Regions from separate parts of the Homo sapiens genome. Here region 1 is linked to region 2. The links are contacts of gene promoters, found by promoter capture Hi-C in human tissues and cell types (Jung and others, 2019). All regions are on one chromosome and are shown on one strand. The core of a region is centred on a gene start or on the middle of the fragment in contact, and the rest is flanking DNA. Distances in the headings are between cores, read along the strand shown.

Evidence for each region. The method cuts DNA at HindIII sites, captures the fragments that hold promoters and counts their contacts. A contact is called where the count stands out against the background at its distance.
Region 1: a contact is called between a fragment that was not itself captured here and the fragment with the promoter of ANKRD18B in region 2, in 1 of the 25 tissues and cell types used here (thymus).

The regions. Positions count from the first base shown.
Region 1 is chr9:33,281,978-33,284,859 of GRCh38, reverse strand. CHMP5 (charged multivesicular body protein 5) reads right to left here. Exons shown (of 8, transcript NM_016410.6): 8 at 2,790-2,882. Among named protein-coding and RNA genes, the nearest start is that of NFX1, 7.1 kb to the left of the region's middle. The HindIII fragment of the contact is 7,030 bases long and covers 1-2,882 here.
Region 2 is chr9:33,522,680-33,525,696 of GRCh38, reverse strand. ANKRD18B (ankyrin repeat domain 18B) reads right to left here and starts at 1,446. Exons shown (of 19, transcript NM_001393611.1): 1 at 1,002-1,446. The coding sequence starts at 1,207. RefSeq lists an enhancer at 2,030-2,079. The HindIII fragment of the contact is 14,531 bases long and covers 1-3,017 here.

The DNA.
Region 1 (2,882 bases), core at 362-2,861, 240 kb after region 2:
ATCTGAATACACCTATAACAAGTAGAGACTGAATCAGTAATTTTAAAAACTTCCCATAAAGAAACACCCAAACCCACATGATTCTACCAAATGTTCAAGGAAGAATGAACACTAATCCTTCACAAACTCTTCCAAAAAATACAGGAGGAGGGAGTACTTCCCAATTTATTCCGTGGACGAACAACTTTACCTTAGGGCAATCATTGCCTACTCCTTCACTGCAGAAATTGATGGTAACAGTCCAGAATGCTTAACCATGAAAATAGGTTCAGACTGATCAGGCACCACAGAGCAGCAGTTAACTCTGGATACACTTAAGTACTTGGGGGAGCTTTTAAAAATCCAAATGCCCACACTGTATCCAGATCTATTATATCAGAATCTATGGGGGTAGGACCCAGACATCAATATTTTTAATAACTCTCTTGGTGACATAACTATAAGAAAACACAAAAGGAAAGCTAAGGGATATGGATGATAGAAGTGCCAAACTTTTTCTATACAGAATCATATCAATCTCCTTCCCCATTCCTGCTAAACTCTCAGAACTGACAGATTAAAACCTAGGACCCCCTGCACTCAATTCTGCTCTTTCCTAGTAGTTAACAGGTGAAATATTGACCAGTGAGGTTGTCTGGTGGTAGCTATAGGAGTGATGATCACAGGCTTTATGGTACCTAGGGCTTTCTAATACAGGACTCACTCCTTCCACTTTCCTTTAATTCACTGGTATTGATGCAGACCAGGGCATGCCCTTTGGCCTTTCCCCAATACAGGAAGAATTAGCAGAATGACAAAGACATAAGGAAGCTTCAGGTAGGAGAAACCATGAACAGAGGCAAGGAATCATGGCTATATGGTGGATGTGGGGGGACCAGATGCAGAACAATTACTAGATCACAAAATTGAAAAGTGTGACATGACACAAGCTGCAGAGCAATTATTCTGTCTCTTACTGGCAAGTGACAGGAACCCAATGCCAACTACTTTAAGCAGAAAAGGGGGTTAAGTTTATTTGCAGAATCCTCAAATACCTCACAGAACGAAGAGTTGTAGAGACTTGGAATGTCAAGGATCAGAATTCAGAGCTGAGTGCCATGGACATCTTTCAGTCTGTCTCTCATCTTGGCTCCCCTCTGGCTTCAATCTCTCATACTGACAAAGAGTAGCACTTCCCCTACTTTCTATTTAGAAAATGTGAGTTATGGACTCTGATAGACACAGCGTGACCACATACACACTTCCATAGCTTGGAAGGGTAAGGACAGTACTACTCTAAAATTGGCATGTTCCTAATAATCGCACAGTTGAAATGGGGGAGCAGTTCCCTTGAAAGAAAGGAAATGCTTTCTGAAAAGACTAGGCAATAAACCATTACAGATAGGCAGAGGCCAGGTCATTGGCAGCTTTTTATGCCCCGGTGGAAGTATTAGAGGACATTAAAGAATTCAAGTCAGATTTATATTTTAGAAAGGTAAGAGTAGCTATATGTGATCAGTGTACTCAAGGAAGTGAAACTATGCGAGAAGAGAAGACATTCCAAAAGACTATGTGAGAGACATCTAGGCCAGCGAGAGTTGAGAGAAGGAGAGGAGGAGTTAGATTTGAGAAACAGGGATTAGGGTTTAAGGATAATTGACTGTGTAGGCAAAATGTAGGCATCAAGGACAACTCAAGCGCTTTCTGTTTTAAATGATAGGAGAATAATAATTCCATTAGCCTCACAGCCTCCCATCATGAGACAATGGTTTCCCTGTCTCACATCTCCCATCATGAGACAGGGAAAACAGAAGCAGGAGATTCAGGTCTGAGGAAAGGTGATAGGCTGTTTCAGCTATTTGAATGTGAGGTGCTTGTGGGCTTCTGGAACATCCAAATATTTGTTAGGCAAACAGCTGGATATAAATAAGATTCTGAAACTCAGGGGCAAGTTCAGGGATAGAAGTATAGATTTGGAAGTTAGCAGTTAAAGCCATGAGAATAGCTGAGATCACTAAATGTAAGTAAACAGAGAAAGAAGTCTGGGGGGTAAAAGCTAGAATCCAGAGGAGCAGTAACATTACAGTTAGAGAGTTGAGGATTTCAGAAAGAAGCCTTAGAGGGAATAGTTAGAGGAACAGGAGAACCGGAGAGTACTATCACAAAACCCAAGAGAGTAGAGATTTAGGTAGAATGATTGCTCACTCATATCCAATGCACTAATGTGGTCTAGCTAAAGGGCTAAATATCACCCACTAAAATGGGCAATATATGAATCACTGGTAACACTAAGCAAGACGAGAAATCAACGAGAAATGTTTGCTGACAGTGAACCCCAAGATAATGAGCTTAATTTGGATATGTTAGATTCTAGGTAACGATGGGGCATTTAAGTGGAAATGCCCAGAATTGAAAATAAGGATAAGAAGTCTAGGCTAGTGACAGTCATTTTGAGTCATTAGTGTGTAGGTAATAGTTGATATCATGGGTGTGAGATTTCTCAAGTAGAATACAGATTGGAACTCTAATGGAAGAAATATTCAAGGGGCTAAGAAAGAGGTATCCATATAAGAGAGTAAGTGGGCCAGATTAGAAGAAAACACAGAACTCACAGAAAAGCCAAGAAAGGTTTCAAGAAGGTAATGATGAATACTATAATGTTTGCTCCCTCTGGAAGGCTTCTTGAGAAGGTGAGGTTGGAGATAGGAGAGGGTTACATACGTTATCTCATCTCCACTTGTAACTAGACAAGAACTCCTGAAGAGAGGAACTTGGTAACCCCTGGGCTGGTACAGAGACTTCTACAAAGCTGGTGTTCCTAAATGTTTATTGGTTTGATCTGCAGACACATGAGAGTCAGGTGCACATAGCACTGTGAGGCACCCAGCTAGGCTGGAGGGGCC
Region 2 (3,017 bases), core at 197-2,696:
TGATACACAGGGGATTTTAATTTTAGTTTGCTAAATCAACCTTCAGAATGCCTGCTTGTGAGGTCATTCTTAGGAAGGCCACTGTTAACGTAAAATGTACCTGTATAAATAAGTCTTTGTGTTTTCTTCTGGTATTTTTCTAATTTTGCATATGTAAAAATTTCAGTCTGTATTCCATCAGGAACTCATTTTTGTGACATAAAATTTCATTAGTTTTCTTCACACAGCAGGCATTTTATTAATAACTCGTCCTTTCCTACTCATCTGAAATGTTACCATTATCAATCCCTATGTATATATCTTACATATATTTCAGTGTTTTTGGATTTCCTATTCTGTTCCATTTATTTATATGTGTTTGTAGCTGTTAGTAAATAATTAATTGTGGGAATTAATAGCACGTTTTGATATCTAGAGGAGCAAGTCGTTTTTCACTCCATCATAAACATTTTAAAATGTCATCACAATGGTAAGACAGACAGCAAGTGTCATGCAAAAATGATAAAACCTTGATATTTTCATTCGGTTTATGTAAAACTGATAAACATATTAAGAGCTCACATTTTGAGAAAACTGAGTCTTCTCATTCAAGGAACCCACCTCCCACTTCCAAGTGTCCCTCTAAGAAGCCCCAGTAAAGAACCTATCTACCTAGGTGGATTTGGATGTAAAACCGACACAGGGTTTTATCTGAGAACTCTTCGCCTACTGAAAATGGCTCATGGTATTTTTGACATGGGAATGAGTTCTCATTAGGCACCTCCCTATCATGTATATGGCTCCATGTTTTAAACGTAGATATGCTTAACTTTGTGAGTTAAATCACTCCAATTATCCACCAAGCGCTACAGGCGGGAAATTCCCAGCGATGGAAAGCAGCTGAGGCTCCATTTGGCTCCGCGGCTCCCAGGGTCCCGGCGAACTCCGACGACCCCGCCTCAGGCGGTGCGGGGAAACCGGGCCTGGGGGCCCCCTCCCACCGAGGGCTGAGCCCCCGCTACCTGTCTTTTCTGTCGCGGACGTCCAAGTCCCGGAACCTGCGCGTCAGGCAGTGCTCCACCTCTGCGGCGTCGCCCTTGATGGCCGCCCTGTGGATCTTCCGCAGTTCCCAGTCCCGAATGTGGTACCCCCGACCCGCATACTCTTGGTCCATGGAGCTCAGGAGCGCCTGGCCCAGGCGTCTCCCAAAACTGAGGAGCTTCCTCATGGTGGCGACTTCTCAGATGCCCACCACCCGCTCCTGAGACGCCGCGGCTCCTCGTGGCCTTTCCACCCCCACCCAGCTCCAAATTCGAGATCCCCCTCCCCACCCAGCGATCCACCCCTAAATCCAAGATGCACCCCCAAACCCGCGATGTAGCTCAGAATCCGCGATCCAGCCCGGTCCACTACAGCCTTCAGCAGCGACACTCGCAGCCTCCGACCTCTCGATAGAGTGAGCCCAGTAAAGCGGTTAGGCGCGCGCCTACAGCTCAGCGCCAGCCCGGACTCCGGAAGGCGCCCTCGAGCTCGCGTGGCCCGCAGAGGGTGACTGCAGCTCGGGCTCAGGCGCCGCTGGCTTGCGGGTTCTCCTGGGCTGGCGCGGGACGTTCCGGAATCTCAGGCGCGCATCCCTTCCCGCCTGGCCGTGACTCCCGCCCCTCTTCTCCGAAGAGAGATCGGGGCCGCTCCAGGGACCGTCCGCGGGGATGGGGCTGAGGGTCGGTTCCTGCCCCGGTGCAGCCGCCGCCGGGCAGACCGCCTGGCTTGGCCGCAGCCACGGCGACATCTAGCCCCGGTTCTGCGAGGCTGGGCGCGCCAGCCAGCTTGGGAGTTGCCCGGCGCCTGTAGCTGGGCGCCCAGGTGGTGGAGCATGGCCTGGGCGGCCTCTGGATCGCGGGTGCCCCTGGCCTGAGAGCCCGCCAGACCCTGCCCCCTCCCGGCTCCTCCTCTGCCAGAGCTCGAGACCTCTAGCCAGGGGCCCTCTGCAGCCACCGGGGATGGGGCTGAGGGCCGGTTCCCGCCCCCGTGCAGCTGCTGCAGGGCAGACCGCCTGGCTCGGCCGCAGCCACAGGGACATCTGGCCCTGCTTCCGAGATGTGGGGAGTGCGGGCGGGCCCAGGAGTTGCCTAGAGGCTGCTGCCTGCACACAGAGGGCGACTGCAGCTTGGGCGCCCAGGCAGCGGAGCATGGTCTGGGTGGCCTCTGGAATGCGTGCGCGCCAGGCCTGAGGGCCCCCCTGGTGGTGCCACCTGCCCTGGTCTTCCTCTGCCTGAGCCTGGAGCAGCTGAAATGGCCACTCTGCAGTCACAGGGGATAGAGTTAAGTTTTCTTATCCCACGCATGCACACGAAAAGGTAACTATTCTGTGAGGTAATTAACATGTTCATTGACTTCATTTTGGTAATCATTTCAGAATGTGCATATAAACGCATCACATGTACAATTTTTATTTCTCTATTACACCTCAGTAAAGCTGAAATAATTAACAGGATTGAAAGGATAAACCCACAGTTCTATAGTCACAGTTGGACACTTCAATACCTCATTTTAATTAATGGATAGAAAAACCAGACAGAAGCTTCATGAGAAATACAAGACTTAAACAACAGTAGAAGCCACTGAGAGCTAATACACATATACAGAACAGTCCATCCCAACAACAGCAGAATATACATTCTTTTCAAGTTATGTGGAACTTTCTCTAGGATAGGCCATATCTTCATCCACAAAATATGTCCTAATCATTTTTAAAAGTTTGAAATCATACAAAATATAATTTACAACCACAATGGAAGAAACAACAGATAAATAAGTGAAAACTGGAAAATTCATGAAAATGTGGAAATTAAACAATACAGTCTTCAACTACCAGTGAGTGAAAAAATAAATTACAAGCAAAATTATAAAATATCTTGAGACAAATTAAAATAAAAACAAAACATACCAAAACTTATTGAATGCAGTGAAAGTAGAGTTCAAAGGAAAATGTATGGATATAAACAACTACATTTTAAGAAAAAATCTCAAATCAATAT